Linked DNA regions of Homo sapiens: all the other regions are linked to region 3. The links are contacts of gene promoters, found by promoter capture Hi-C in blood cells and fetal thymus (Javierre and others, 2016). All regions are on one chromosome and are shown on one strand. Each heading gives the region's core, a stretch centred on a gene start or on the middle of the fragment in contact. The rest is flanking DNA. Distances are from core to core; before and after follow the strand shown.

Region 1 (2,700 bases), core at 5-2,504, 290 kb after region 3:
TGTGGGCACAAAGACACTTTTTCTTCCGCAGGGGCGGGAGCCCCTAGTTCCAACACTGAGGACGCGTGACATGGTGGGCACCGGAAAGGAGGGGACTTCTCCTGCACCCCAAGAAGTGGTGGGGAGATTGCTGCCCCTATAGCCATATCTCGGCCCCTTCCCACTCACCACCCCCACCCCAGGTGCTGGGGGTCCCTTATTTTTATGCAATAACTGAGCTTGATGGGGGTGGGCAGGGGGCCAGTTGAGCCAAGCCCCCAGCCCCGATCTGCAGATCCTGCCCCAAGAAGCTGGGGTGGTGGGGGCAGTAATTCCTGCCCCCCTCTCTGCCCTAGGGATGGGCACGGGGGCGCTGGTGAGGTCCCCTGGACCATCCAGGGTGCTAGGGGGCAGGGAGGGGACACCCCCTCCCCGCCTTTACCTCACTTCCAATGCTGCCTTGATCTCTGTCTGGGAGGGGGGAGTGAAGGGGCCCTAGCCCCCTGCACTCCGCCGCCTCAGAGCCATGCGGTTAATTCCTGACTTAGTTTATTTTTGCAAAACGTCGATCTCCTCCTCCCCCGCCCCGCATCCGCGAAGGCTTTTAATGGGAGGGGCGTCAAAGCTCAAAACTGTTTTCCTCTCTCCTCCCCCCTCCAGTTGTAAATGCCACTTCATGAGGGGAGGGGCGAGGGGAAGCCCACCCCTGCATGCTTCTGGCTGGAGCACCTCCCTGGGGAGTCGGGGGATTGGGTTGTGGGCAGTCCCCATGGCCGCCTGGAGAAGCCGCTGGGGCCCGGGGGTGTGGGGCGGTGTGGCGGGCGCACACTGTATGTACCTATAATAAACCCTTTGGCTTTGACGGTCTATGGTCCTTTGTTTGGGTTTTCTGGGCTGCGCCCGGGAGGATTGAAAGGAGGGCTGTGGTGGCTGTAGGGGTGGGTGCGGGGTGGGGAGAGGGGCACGGGGGTACCGTGGCTGCGGAGAACATCCAGATGTACCCTTTTATGTGGACTTAATTTCGGGGTCTAAACACACGCCCCTTGACGAGAACCTAGAGGGATGGAGAATATTTCGTTATGCTTCGTAATAAACTTCCCCAAAGGAGACTCCGGGTCCGCCCCGTCAAGTTCAGGAAAGGCGGACCCCTTTAAGGAGGCGGAAAAGTTAACCGCGATGGGCAGGCGCTCTGTCCAATCGCTAGTGACTCCTGGAGTCTCTGGCCCAATGAGCAGCCTATGGAGGCGGGGTCCGGGTGCACACCCGGAAGTGGGTGCGGGCCAGCCGGCTCGCCCGGGGGCCATGGCAGCAGCGGCTACTGCAGCCGAGGGGGTCCCCAGTCGGGGGCCTCCCGGGGAAGTCATTCATCTGAATGTGGGAGGCAAGAGGTGAGTGTGGGAGACTCCTGAGGTCCCATCCTCGGGGGCGGGAAGCGGGGTGGGAGTATCCGCCTCTCCTGGGGGAATCCCTGTCCATCAAGGGTTGCTCCGCCCCCCCCCCCTTTGGAGGCGCGAGATTCTGGAAAAACGCCGGGGGAGGGGGAAGGGGAGGGAACCCTGGATCCTGCGGGAGGGGGACGCATTCCTCACCCGCTCCTCTTCATCTCTTGCGTCCGTTTACCTTCCCCGCCCAGATTCAGTACCTCTCGCCAGACTCTCACCTGGATCCCAGACTCCTTCTTCTCCAGGTGATCGGGAGAGCGAGTTTGGGGCGAGGGTAGGAGGGATGGAGAGGGCGTGGGAGACCTAATATCCACTCCCCCGGCCCGTGACGCCTGCTCGGTGTCCCTTCCCTGCAGTCTTCTGAGCGGACGCATCTCGACGCTGAAAGATGAGACCGGAGCAGTGAGTCGGACAAGAACTGAAATGGGATGGGGGGGAGGGGTTGGTAGGAAGAGGGGCAGGACCCCACTCAGTCCTGCCTTTTACCCCATCCATCCTCTGCCCCCCTTTCCCGCAGATCTTCATCGACAGGGACCCTACAGTCTTCGCCCCCATCCTCAACTTCCTGCGCACCAAAGAGTTGGATCCCAGGTTGGCATGGAAAAAGGGGAGGGAGTCCCTCACTGTCTTCAGTCCCTGAGGAGTTCTTTCACCTCCTCTGAATGTCCACGTGAGCTCCATTCTATTAGAATTCTCATTCAGAACCTTGATCACAGGCCGGGCGCGCCGGGATTGCTCACGCCTGTAATCCCAACACTTTGGGAGGCCGAGGTGGGAGGATCACTTGAGCCCAGGATTTGGAGACTAGCCTGGGCAACATAGCGAGACCCCTTCTCTAAAAAAGCAAACAGGCAAAACTTCATGAGAATCTTGATCATGTTAAAATTTTATGTCCTTCGATTTCTCCCTACACACACACACACACACACACACACACACACACACACACACACTCAACATTTCCTCCACCCATATCATCACTCCTTAGCATCTTTATTCCATCAAAACTTTCTACCCCTTGACATTCTCTGTGCAGTTTTGAAAATTACCCTCTCAGCATTCTCTGTTCACCCCCACACCTAGACCCTGACCTCTAGTCAATTCTACTACCCAGGGGTGTCCACGGTTCCAGCCTCCTCCATGAAGCCCAGTTCTATGGGCTCACTCCTCTGGGTAAGTGGGAGCCCCCAGCTATCATCCTCATTGTATAGAAAACCAACTCTGTGATGCTACCTGCCCCTCTTCCCCTTCTCTCCTGAAAGAGGGCTGGGGTAGAGGT
Region 2 (2,700 bases), core at 163-2,662, 310 kb before region 3:
TCATGCCTGTAATCCCAGTGCTTTCAGAGGCTGAGGAGAGAGGATAGCTTGAGGCCAGCAGTTGGAGACTCTAGTGAGCTATGATCGTGCCACTGCACTCCAGCCTGGGCGACAGAGACTCTAGCTCTTAAAAAAAAAAGAAAAAAACAGATGAATGATAACCTTTAGAAGGGATCGGGAGGCCGGATGTGGTGGCTCACGCCTATAATCCCAGCACTTTGGGAGGCCAAGGCAGGCAGATCACTTGAGGTCAGGAGTTTGTGACCGGCCTGGCCAACATGGTGAAACCCTGTCTCTACTAAAAATACAAATATTAGCCTGGGCAACAGAGTGAGACTCCGTCTCGGGGCGGGGAGTGGAGGGGGGAGAAGAAGGGATGGGGGAAAGGGGAGCACATGAGGCTTCTACTGTTTGGTTTTGCGATCTGGATTCAGGTTGTATGGGCATGTTCACTTTGTGTAATTTTGTCGAGCTGTAATGATTTGTGCTCTTCTCTTTATTTAACTTCAATAAAAGGTTTACTTAACAAAAATTGTAGCTGGTGTGAAGGGTAGCAGTGTTTCCCTGGGGCCAAGAGTACAGGCTTTGGGGACAGACAGACCTGGGTCCCAATCTATGCTTTGTCCCTTCGGCACATTGTTGACTGTGGCTGGTGGCTTCGTGGCTCTGAGCTTGTCTCCTTCTCTATAAATGAGGAAACATAATACTTGCGACGATGATGCCTGTAAAGCTTAAGCGCAGGACCTGGCATAGATCTGTAAGGCGGAAACCTGGGATACAGAACTAAGGTCTATGGATCTCCTGTGCTACCCAACTTCTGGGCACTCGCTGCCTCCTTTTCCCCAGCCCAGACGCGTGGGTTCTACTCGATTGGTTGCTCACTGCGGGCTCGGGGCTCCTCAATCCCGGGGTAAAGCCCAGTATGAAATGTCACCTTCAGGGGCAGCTCGGATCTTCCCACGCCCGCGCGGCGCACAATCTTTGGATCAGCGCCACGTGGAGACCTTACCCGCCCGTACGATCAATCCCTTCTGTGGAACCCAGCTCAAGGACCCTCCAGCCCAGACACTAGAAAGCGAAGAGCAGTTGGCCGCCAGACTGTCCGTGCCAGAGCTCTGCGAACTTACTCCGTTGAAAGAGCAACGGGGCTGCGCCACCTCCCGGAGAGAACCCCCAGCCCTCCACGGCAGGGCGAGATGGCGCCACCGCGTGATACTGCGCACGCCCACAGCTCCCGTCCCGCCCTCGCGCCTGCGGGTACGGACAGCGCATGAGCTTATGTTGAGGGCGGAGCCCAGACCAGCCCTTCGTCCTATCCTGCCCTTCCAGCACCTCTCAGCCGTAACTTAAACTACACTTCCCAGAAGCCTCCTCAGCCAGGGACTTCCGTTGTCGTCAGCGGAAGCGGTGACAGATCATCCCAGGCCACACAGAGGCCGGCTTGGTCACTATGGAGGAGATAGGCATCTTGGTGGAGAAGGCTCAGGTACAGTGGGGACTTGGGCTTTTTAGTCCGGGCCGGGCTCGCGGGGAGAGGGTGAAGCCAGACCTGAGTGGGGGGAGGAATGGCTTCCAGGACCCCGGCCCAGGTTGGGGTTATTTTAGAGGCCTCGGTGGAGAGCTTTGTGCCATTCGAAGGCCTGTCTGGGTGGCCGAGTGATGGTAGGAGGTAAGGCTCAGAAAGCGGGGCTGGGGGAGTGAGTGACGTTAGTGGGTCTTTGAGACGGATTGATTTCGAACCCTGGCCGGTAGTGCTTAGTGAGGTCGGTGGCCCGGCGTTGGGATTGGGTCAGGCGGTGAGTGATATATGGGATCCCGCCGTGCGGCCGAGTGATCCCCGGGTCTGGGCTGCGGGGCTGACTGATGTTCAGGGCTTTGCTGATGGGGGTAATGGGGCGGGTAGTTAAGTATTATCTGTGGCTTGCCTGAGTGATATTTAGGTCTAAGGTGAGTTAGGAGACTGTGACATAAGGGATCTTTGAGGGGAAACTGGGGAATGTTGGGACTCGTTGAAGGCGCAGTCACTTTAACAGCCTATCTAGGAGAGCCATGTGACATTAGGAACCTCTTGAAGGGGATTGGGTGGCATTTGGGTCTGATAAGGAGTTGATGTGACGTTTAGATCCTAGTTGGGGGTTGTGTGACACTGGGGACATGTTATGAGTGGTATATGATAACATAAGATCTGTTTGAGGGGCAAGTTGACATAAAGAGCTTGTTTAGGTGGCCAAAAGGTTTCCAGGATCTATTTAGAGGGTCTTAAGATATCAGGGGTCTGTTAGGGGCTAAGTGACATCAGGGTGAAGTGGGGAGGGGAACAAACATTAGTGAAGTTGGGAAGCTTTCATGAGAGGACTGTCTTCTTCCAATGTGAGTTATCCCCTTTCGTCTAGGATGAGATCCCAGCACTGTCCGTGTCCCGGCCCCAGACCGGCCTGTCCTTCCTGGGCCCTGAGCCTGAGGACCTGGAGGACCTGTACAGCCGCTACAAGGTACATTCGACCCCCAACCCAGACCTTGCACAGGACCTGACATCTCATACTCTTCCCCACTTTCCACCACTCTCTGGATCAGCAAGTCTGGAGCCATCCCCTTCTGTCCCCTCTCTGCTCGCAGAAGCTGCAGCAAGAGCTGGAGTTCCTGGAGGTGCAGGAGGAATACATCAAAGATGAGCAAAAGAACCTGAAAAAGGAATTTCTC
Region 3 (2,700 bases), core at 70-2,569:
AGCCCACGAGTGAACTCCTGCTGCTTCTCTGGGAAGGTAGGAGTGGATGAAGTTGAAAAGCAGCCCATTGGAGGCTCTAGTTACTCCAGCCCAGGCGTCTTGCTGAGCCCCAAGAGGTCTCCAAATGAGAGGAAGAGGTCCTCACAATCCCAAGATCAAGATGCCCCCAGAGAGCTTCCCTGGGGGGAAGAGGTGTTCCCCCAAACACTCCTTCCTCCCAAGTTTTAACAAGCGGGTGCAGGGGCACGGCTCCTCAAATCCAAGCCCAATCCCTCTTCCTCTTCAGAATGTTAAGGCTCAGACAACTTCAGTGACTTCTAACACAGCTTTCCTCCCTCCCCTATGGAAGGAAAGAACTGTTACTGCCTGGTAAATAATCTGAGAGGGTAATGGAATCCAGAGCAGCACCTCCATGGTCCAAAGCACCCCAGTAACCATGACGTTCCCTCCAGAGTCGTTAAGAAGTTCAATAAAGGCTGAGATCAGTGTAAACCCCCAACGCCACACACGTCAAATACAGGAAACAGAAACCCCTCCTCACCAATCGGCATCACAGTCCTCCCAAAATACGCCCCTAAAACCCACTAGGGCCTGTCCCGCCCCGTCCCAGTCCCTTAAAGATCACAAACATCACAGTCCTCTGATTTGGGTTCCCCTACGTTCTAAGCAGGGCTCCCCCAACGCCGTGGTGATATAACCCAGCCACAGTTGGGGAAGCATCCTCCCCAGAAGCCCCCACCCCTGTAAATACAGCACAGCAACGGCTTCCACAGCGCCAAAAAGGTACAGCCCTCTACACTTGATGCGGCGCGCCCCCTCGATAGCTTAGCCCGCGCACGCCAGGCTCGATCTGCCCGCCGCGCCCGAAAGGTCCAGCCCCCGGCCCGCGCACGCTGCGGCCTGCGCTCCCCGTCCCGCAAACTTGCAGCGCTCCCCCCACCGCCTCAGTGGTATGGCCCGCCGCCACCGCCCCGGCCCCCCGAGGCTGGTCCCACCGCCCCCGCTCGGCCACCCCCACTCAGCTCCTGAAGGAGGGGCTCGAGGGCCGCGGTCCCCCCGCCGGGCACGGGTGGTACAGCCCATCGCGGCACCGCGGGGGGCCCGGACGCGACCATCGTGGGGGGGGCGTTCGGGGACACGCGCTGGCGCACTCACCTGTCACCGGCAGCCGCCCAGCCTCTCCGGCGGGGCTCTACCCCCGCCCATCGCCACGCTGCGCTGGTTCCCTTTCCTTGTGTTTCCCGGCAGCGGCAACGGCGCCGGCAGCGGCAGCGGCGGCGGCGACGCCTCCTCCGAGGCAGGCCCAACGGCTAGCACGGCGCGGCCCCCCCCGCCCCCTCCCCCCAGCCCCCGCTTACCGCCCCCTCCCACCCTCTGGACGGAAATACCGCCCTCTCGCGCCACAAACAGGAAGTGACGTACAAAGAGCCAGAGACGAACTCTGAGAGAGCGAGAGCGCAAGAGCAGGGCAGAGAAGGAGGCGGGCTCACAGCAGGGCGCCTGCGCACATTAGACAACTTTGGGCCTGTGTGGGTTAGAGATGGGCCTCGCTAGGCCGTGGGGCGGAAAGGCGAGATGGGGCTACGCAGGCGCACTAGGACTCCGACGTCTGCTTTCCCTAGGGCCTAGCCGTAGTGATTATTTCCCGGCAGCCCCTAGTCCGTATTTACATACGCTTTGATCTTGTTTTACTCAGTTCTGGGTTCTGACGCTCTTAAAGGACCCCGGAGCGGGAGTTAGTTAGGAGGGGTTTCCTTTTCAGTGTGCTCGTCATGGTTGAGCTCAGGCTCTGAAGCCACACAACCCCAGACTTGAATTTCCTCCTTTCTGGTGACTGTGGGCAGAAGGCTTGACCGTTTTCTGTGCCTCAGTATCCACATCTGCTAAATGGAAACAATCATCGCTGTGTCGCTGGCTTTTGAACCATTTTAATGTAAACAAAACGGTTTTTACCAATTAGTTCATTACTGCAAGATATTAATGCCACCTGCTCTCATCGTACATATTCCAGTGAATCTGGGATATAACATTTTATAATGCAACTTGGGCCCATAAAGGCCTTAAAATCACCCTGCGGCCGGGCGCGGTGGCTCACTCCTGTAATCCTAGCACTTGGGGAGGCCAAGGCAGACGGATCATGAGGTCAGGAGTTCGAGACAGCCTGGCCAACATAGTGAAACCCCGTCTCTACTCAAAATACAAAAAAAAAAAAAAAAGCCGGGCATGTCGGTGTGTGCCTGTAATCCCAACTACTTGGGAGGCTTGAGGCAGGAGAATCGCGTGAACCCGGGAGGCAGAGGTTTCAGTGAGCCGAGATCATGCCATTGCACTCCGGCCCGGGCGACAGTGCAAGTCTCCGTCTCAAAAAAAAAAAAAAAAAAGAAAAGAAAGAAAAAAGAAAAAAAATGACCCTGCAAGAAAAGAGCTTTGCACAGATCCTAATCCGTATATTAGCTAGTATACTGGACAGCTGTGAGACATCTGGCTCCCAGCCCCTCCTCTCTCATAGGGGATTGTGCTGCCTCCTGAATTTGGGTTCCAGTATGCCATATAACTTGGCAATTGTATGCATTGGTAAGTGAGAAAAATGCCTGACTGAGAGTTGAATCCTGGGTCCACCTCAGTCTGTGAGAGTGTTTCAGGCAAATCCTGCTGAGGGTTCGGCTTTCGTTTTCTGAGACGTAAACCTAATGCTGGAAC
Region 4 (2,700 bases), core at 201-2,700, 410 kb after region 3:
CATACTGTCACATACCCAGTTATAGTTACCGAGGCATACAAACACAGGGTCACAAAAGACACAATCACAGACAACCACAGTCACAACCATGCACACCTCCAAACACAGACAGACTAAAAAGTACAGGATTCTGCACAGTGAGCAGCTGTCACACACACATACACAGTCACACAGATACTAGGGTCACAGACACAATCATAGACACCACCACAAGCACACACACACGACACAGGATTCCTCAGTCACCAGCTGCAGCGTACGCGTGCACACACACACACACATACACAGCCACAGTCACACAAACACAGGGCACACTCCTAGCCACCTCCCCATCGCTTGCTTCCCCCCTTCCCCCCAGGTACCACACACAAAGCCGCCGTCACCGTCACCGCAGACACTGCAGACAGACAGGGCTGCACCCGGTCCCTGGGGAGCCGCCCCCAGCCCAGCCTGTATCCTGGAGCCTGAGGGCCAGGTCCAGGAGGGGGAAGCGGTGCATTGTCTGCGGGTGGGGCCACTCTTGGACAGCTGGGCAGCCCTGGGGACAAAGGGGGTGGCCTAGGGATCCTGTGCCCTGGGACCCATGACCAAGCCAGGGGGTGGAGGGATTGGGGGTTGCCTGAAATTGTCCTTATTTTATTCAGGCTGGGGTGGGGTGGAGTCCCAGGCACAGGGACCTTGTTTTGAGAAGTGGCTGTGCCTGGGACTCCGCCCAAGGATTGGGGGGATGCTGTGCCCAGGGTGCCTCTGAGACCTGGGGGCAGGCTGTGCTTGGAGTCCCCCTAGGCCTTGGCGTGGTGGGAACGCTGTACCCAGTGACCCCATCCTCGAGACCGTACCTAGGCAGTTGTTGTGCTGAGACCCCCTTAGGCAGGGAGAGGTAGGGATTGTGTCTGGAATCGCGTCCTGGAGGCCTTGGTTTGATACGGGGGCTGTGTCCCCGACCCCATCTCCATCCCCATCTAGTTCTAGGAGTTGTACCTAGAATCTCTGTACCCCTGTCCTTGGTTTTGTGGGGGGTCTGTGTCCAGGATCCCTATTTCCAGGGCCTTGGCAAGAGATGGCCCAGGGGTCTGTGCCCAAGACCCCGGTCTCCTGGGCTTTGGCTTGTTGGGCCTGTTCCTGGACCCCCACCCGGGACCACCCTCTCCAGCCTTGGCACCCTCTCTCCATCCGGGCGCCGCGGCCGCCTCCCACCCTCCGCCACATCAGCAGCGGCGCCGCCCCCGACCCGAGCCCCCCTCTCCCGCCCTTCTCACGCTGGCCGCCGCGCTGCGGGACATCCAGGGCCCGGGCGCCCCCGCCTCCCGCGGCCCTGGCTGGGCCTGGCTCCCCGACTGCTGCTGCTGCGGTGGTGGCGGCGGCAGCTCGGTCTGACGCCGGCCAGGGCCCGGGGCCGGGGGATGGTGCGGGATGCACGCGCGCGAGCCTCCTCGGCTCCCGGGAGGATTCCGTTCCGGGGGCGGGGGAGCGTCCCTCGGCCTCGGCTCCCCGCCCCGACCCCGCCCATTGGCCCGCCGCCTGCCGTATATGCAGAAAGGTCCCGCCCCGCCCCGCCCCTTGGCCTGAAGACCCCGCCCACACGCAGACACCATCCCGCCTTCCCCGGCGCGGCCACCGCCCCGCCACGCCCATTGGCCAGTCCCGAGCTGAGCATGCCTATGAACATCGCCGAGTCCTTTCCCCCGGTCCGTCCTGGCCTGGGCTCCCTTTCCCTCCGTGACACCTGACCTCAGATCCCCTCCAGCTCCGCGTCCGAAAGAGTTGCTTCTAGAGGCGCCTTGCCGCCCCACACCCCCAAATCTTCCCGCTAACCCCATGGTTCCCCAGCCCGGCGGGGGCGGGCAGGAGCGGTGACGAGGCACTTTTTGCAAGGAAGGGGAGGGGGTGTGAACAGACCAAGGCGTCCTGATGCGCGATCGGTTCGGCTTTGGGAACGGGGGCGCCGGGGTGGGACCAGGGCGCGGTTCTGGCCGCTACGGCGCCCCCGCCGCCCCCTACGCCAATCCTGTGGGTTTGGCAAAGCAGCTGGCAGGGACATTAGAGCCCATTAGTAAAGGCGAGGTTGCCAGGAGTGAGGGGAGGGAGCCCGCAGCCAAGAGGCACTGTGTGTGTGGGAGGCCTCAGCTGCCACAGCCCTTAGAGCAGGTGGTCAGCACGTGGGGGGGGGTGGGGAAGGCGAGAAGGAGGTTCCCGGCAACAGATGGCACAGGCAGGGCTGAGGCTTTCAGACAAGGGGGTGCAGGGGGGCTGGCCATCTGCACCTGGAGGCCGCTGGCGAGCTCCTCCCCCTCTCCCCCCAACCCTAGCGCAGAGAAAAGAGCTGGGGGAAGGGGAGGGCTGCTTTTATTCCGATTGAAGATTCAGCTCCCCCCCACCCCGCACCCCTACCTCTCCAACACACTGAGAGGCTGGAACCCGGGAGAAGGCAGCTGTTGGAGGAGCGAGGGAGGCAGAGGTGAGGACTGCCTCCAGGACCATCTCGCCTTCCACGGGAGGCTTGAGGCAGAGGTGAGGGCTCCCCCTGATGAGTCTGATCTGCATAACGACATGCAGCGGCCCAAGGCTCCCTCAAATGTTGGCAAAGATAAGTTAACCGCTTCCCTGGCTTAGTTTTCGGATACCCACTTTCGAGTGGGGAGGTGCAGGATCTAGGGCACGAAGTTGGGAGTTCCCCAGCCCCAGGGATCCTGAGCTCCT
Region 5 (2,500 bases), core at 1-2,500, 470 kb after region 3:
GTGATCCACCCGCCTCGGCCTCCCAAAGTGCTGGGATTACATGCATGAGCCAAAGCACCCGGACTGGACTGGGCACTTGTGAGGACAGCTTTCTTCATTGCTGGAGGCACACCACCATGGAAGAGATCTAGGTGGGGGACCTAAGTAGTCAGCCTGTTTGATCTTGAGGACACGGGAACCCCCCCCCCACCCCAAGAGATCTGTGAAGTGTCTAGGGCAGAGCCTGGGTGGTGGGTGGGGCATGGAGACCCTACCGGTCCTTGTGTAGTTTCAGAAGCCTCTTCACATCTTCTCTGCCCTTGGGGACCGGGCCGGCCTTATCAAAGGCCTCCTTCAGGAGCTGGCTCTTCTCCAGGCCGAAGACATGACGGGGAGCAGGCCCTGTGGCAGCGGGTGGAGGAGGCAGTGGGAGCGGTGGGGGAACAGGGGTCTGCTGACTCCAGGGAGGGGATGGTAAAGCTGAAAAGTCCAGGGGACTTGGGGGTAGAGGAGGAGATGGAATGCTGCTGGCTTGGGGTACAGGGGTTTTTGGAGGAGAAATTGGTGGTTTTAGGGGAGGAGAGCATGGAGAAGTCATTTTGGGGTCTACAGGAGGTGTTGAGAGGTTCAGAAAGCGGGGAGGGAAGGATCCTCCAACGGAGAACGGTCTCAGGGATGGAGATTTTAAAGGTTTAAGAGCTGAGTTCCAGAATCTGGGGACTGAGCAGTGGGTGTGAAAGGACCAGGGCTAATATTTGAAACCACGGGAGCAGGAATTGCGAGGCTGACTCAAGTCATAAGGCACCTGACGGTTAACAGGGTGGGGTCCTTAAATCCGGAACCGGATCTGTGGTACCGGTTGGGTTACCTCGGGAGTCTTAGGTGGAGAGTTAGTAGGAGTTAACTCATTCTTTGGGGCTGGATGTGGAAACTCATGAGTGAGTTTGGGATATGAAGGCTCAGATCTAGAGTGAGGTGCCTTAAGGATGCGACTTAGGGACCCAGGGCTAAAGATTCGGAGAACTTAGGTTCAGTACCCCCTCACATCCCAGGCCCGAGTTCGGAACCTTTGAGCTGACCTTTGAGTCAGAGGTCAAGAGGTCAAAAAGGACACCTGGCAGGGAAAATGGCCTAGTTGTGGAGAAGGTCCTGGAACCAGAGCAACAAAAAACGTCTGTGGGTTGGAGAAGACTCAGAGATCAGAGGCCGGTGGGCGCCGCGATAACCACTGGAAAAAGGAAAGGAGTCAGGAAGTAAAGTGCACCTCCCACTCCCGGAAAATGGCGGCCCCCGCACACTGCCTTTCCCATATCACGTGGTATTACACGCAACAGTTCCCGCCCATTTTGCGATCACGTGACAGAAAACGCAGCTCTGGCGGGGGTAAGAGGCGGGACTCCAAAAAGGATTGCCTCCGGAAGACACCGCAGCGCGAGACGCGTACAGACTCGTGACCTTCACTGATTGGTCCGTAGACCCGGGCGCCACGGAAGGAGGTGGGCTTTCAGGGAGTGGGGCGGGGTTTTTCTACCTAGGCGGGAACCCAAATATCGTTTTGATTGGCAACAGCTGAGCCCAGAAACGAGACTTGCTCTGATTGGTCAAGCTACTGCGTTTCCGCGCGGCGATTGGCTGGCAGAAAGGCAGAGGCGGGGCCAGGAGAGAAAGCTTTGTGGTTTGGTCTCAGGGAAGTAGCAGGCGCCGGTTGAGAGAACTACGGCCCTGTCGGAAGGTAACCTCCGGTGCAAACGACCATCGGCGGCAGGCGAGCGGTACGCTTGGCGTCCGGGCCTTCCTGGGCCCGTCTGAGGAAACTTGCTGCTCGAGGCCAGGCTGCCTAGGACCTGTCCCTTTTTTCTATACTGGCTCCCACATCCGGGTTTTTTCTCCGGGACGGCCCTTCGGATGCTTGGGCCAATGGGAATCGCCATTTAGGGTGCTCCGCCCACCGGGTCGCGTAGAGCATCCTGGAAGTCGTAGTAAATCTCTCGAGAGTTCTCTCCGCACGCGGGCTGGAGAAGCGGGTCCTACGCACGCTTTGTTGTCGCGCTTTGCCTCCGTCCTTGCCCCTACTCCCGCCTTACCTGACTTCCTTTTCGGAGGAAGATCCTTGAGCAGCCGACGTTGGGACAAAGGATTTGGAGAAACCCAGGGCTAAAGTCACGTTTTTCCTCCTTTAAGACTTACCTCAACACTTCACTCCATGGCAGTTCCCGAGACCCGCCCTAACCACACTATTTATATCAACAACCTCAATGAGAAGATCAAGAAGGATGGTGAGTTCTCGGGATAGTCCGGAGTCCAGACTGTCCCGCACGGGCTGGCCCCTCTTCCGTCCCCTGCACCCGCCTCTCTTTCTAAGTGTTTGTCCAGCCAAACTTCGAGTTAACTCCTTGGCCTTTACACAAACTACTTCCTGTCTTCAACACTCCATTAGTTCATCTTACACTCTGCCCTTTAACGTGGTCACTGCTGCTCATCTTACAAGGTTTGAGGTCACAGGACCCTTCCTCCAGGAAGC

Evidence for each region. Contacts are between HindIII fragments. The CHiCAGO score rates a contact against its expected background, and 5 or more counts as called.
Region 1: the fragment with the promoter of SHKBP1 here is called in contact with the fragment with the promoter of AKT2 in region 3 in 12 of 17 cell types (monocytes, neutrophils, erythroblasts and 9 more); the score reaches 11.2 in monocytes.
Region 2: the fragment with the promoter of PSMC4 here is called in contact with the fragment with the promoter of AKT2 in region 3 in 14 of 17 cell types (erythroblasts, fetal thymus, total B cells and 11 more); the score reaches 11.8 in erythroblasts.
Region 4: the fragment with the promoter of NUMBL here is called in contact with the fragment with the promoter of AKT2 in region 3 in 1 of 17 cell types (neutrophils); the score reaches 5.1 in neutrophils.
Region 5: the fragment with the promoter of ACTMAP here is called in contact with the fragment with the promoter of AKT2 in region 3 in 3 of 17 cell types (total B cells, activated CD4 T cells and fetal thymus); the score reaches 8.0 in total B cells.

What each region holds. Positions count from the first base shown.
Region 1 is chr19:40,575,619-40,578,318 of GRCh38, forward strand. It overlaps SHKBP1 (SH3KBP1 binding protein 1), which reads left to right and starts at 1,255. Exons shown (of 18, transcript NM_138392.4): 1 at 1,255-1,367; 2 at 1,613-1,666; 3 at 1,778-1,823; 4 at 1,939-2,012; 5 at 2,536-2,594. The coding sequence starts at 1,282. It overlaps SPTBN4 (spectrin beta, non-erythrocytic 4), which reads left to right. Exons shown (of 36, transcript NM_020971.3): 36 at 1-846. RefSeq lists silencers at 644-733, 1,084-1,263, 1,284-1,353. The HindIII fragment of the contact is 21,373 bases long and covers 1-2,700 here.
Region 2 is chr19:39,969,753-39,972,452 of GRCh38, forward strand. PSMC4 (proteasome 26S subunit, ATPase 4) reads left to right here and starts at 1,413. Exons shown (of 11, transcript NM_006503.4): 1 at 1,413-1,486; 2 at 2,394-2,492; 3 at 2,617-2,700. The coding sequence starts at 1,451. It overlaps LOC124904720 (a long non-coding RNA gene), which reads right to left and starts at 1,219. Exons shown (of 3, transcript XR_007067260.1): 1 at 1,128-1,219; 2 at 602-684. RefSeq lists enhancers at 733-782, 1,283-1,672, 1,697-2,376. The HindIII fragment of the contact is 1,611 bases long and covers 729-2,339 here.
Region 3 is chr19:40,284,026-40,286,725 of GRCh38, forward strand. It overlaps AKT2 (AKT serine/threonine kinase 2), which reads right to left and starts at 1,320. Exons shown (of 14, transcript NM_001626.6): 1 at 1,156-1,320. RefSeq lists enhancers at 345-484, 1,641-2,472 and a silencer at 855-1,354. The HindIII fragment of the contact is 30,037 bases long and covers 1-2,700 here.
Region 4 is chr19:40,689,201-40,691,900 of GRCh38, forward strand. It overlaps NUMBL (NUMB like endocytic adaptor protein), which reads right to left and starts at 1,451. Exons shown (of 10, transcript NM_004756.5): 1 at 1,260-1,451. The coding sequence starts at 1,283. It overlaps COQ8B (coenzyme Q8B), which reads right to left. Exons shown (of 15, transcript NM_024876.4): 15 at 2,330-2,700. RefSeq lists enhancers at 1-681, 355-404, 1,620-2,557 and silencers at 1,244-1,583, 1,904-2,143. The HindIII fragment of the contact is 12,323 bases long and covers 1-2,700 here.
Region 5 is chr19:40,749,227-40,751,726 of GRCh38, forward strand. ACTMAP (actin maturation protease) reads right to left here and starts at 1,251. Exons shown (of 6, transcript NM_198476.5): 1 at 255-1,251. The coding sequence starts at 577. It overlaps SNRPA (small nuclear ribonucleoprotein polypeptide A), which reads left to right and starts at 1,977. Exons shown (of 6, transcript NM_004596.5): 1 at 1,977-2,255. The coding sequence starts at 2,183. RefSeq lists enhancers at 702-1,327, 1,019-1,258, 1,799-1,868, 1,956-2,500 and silencers at 1,459-1,598, 1,863-2,045. The HindIII fragment of the contact is 2,474 bases long and covers 1-1,645 here.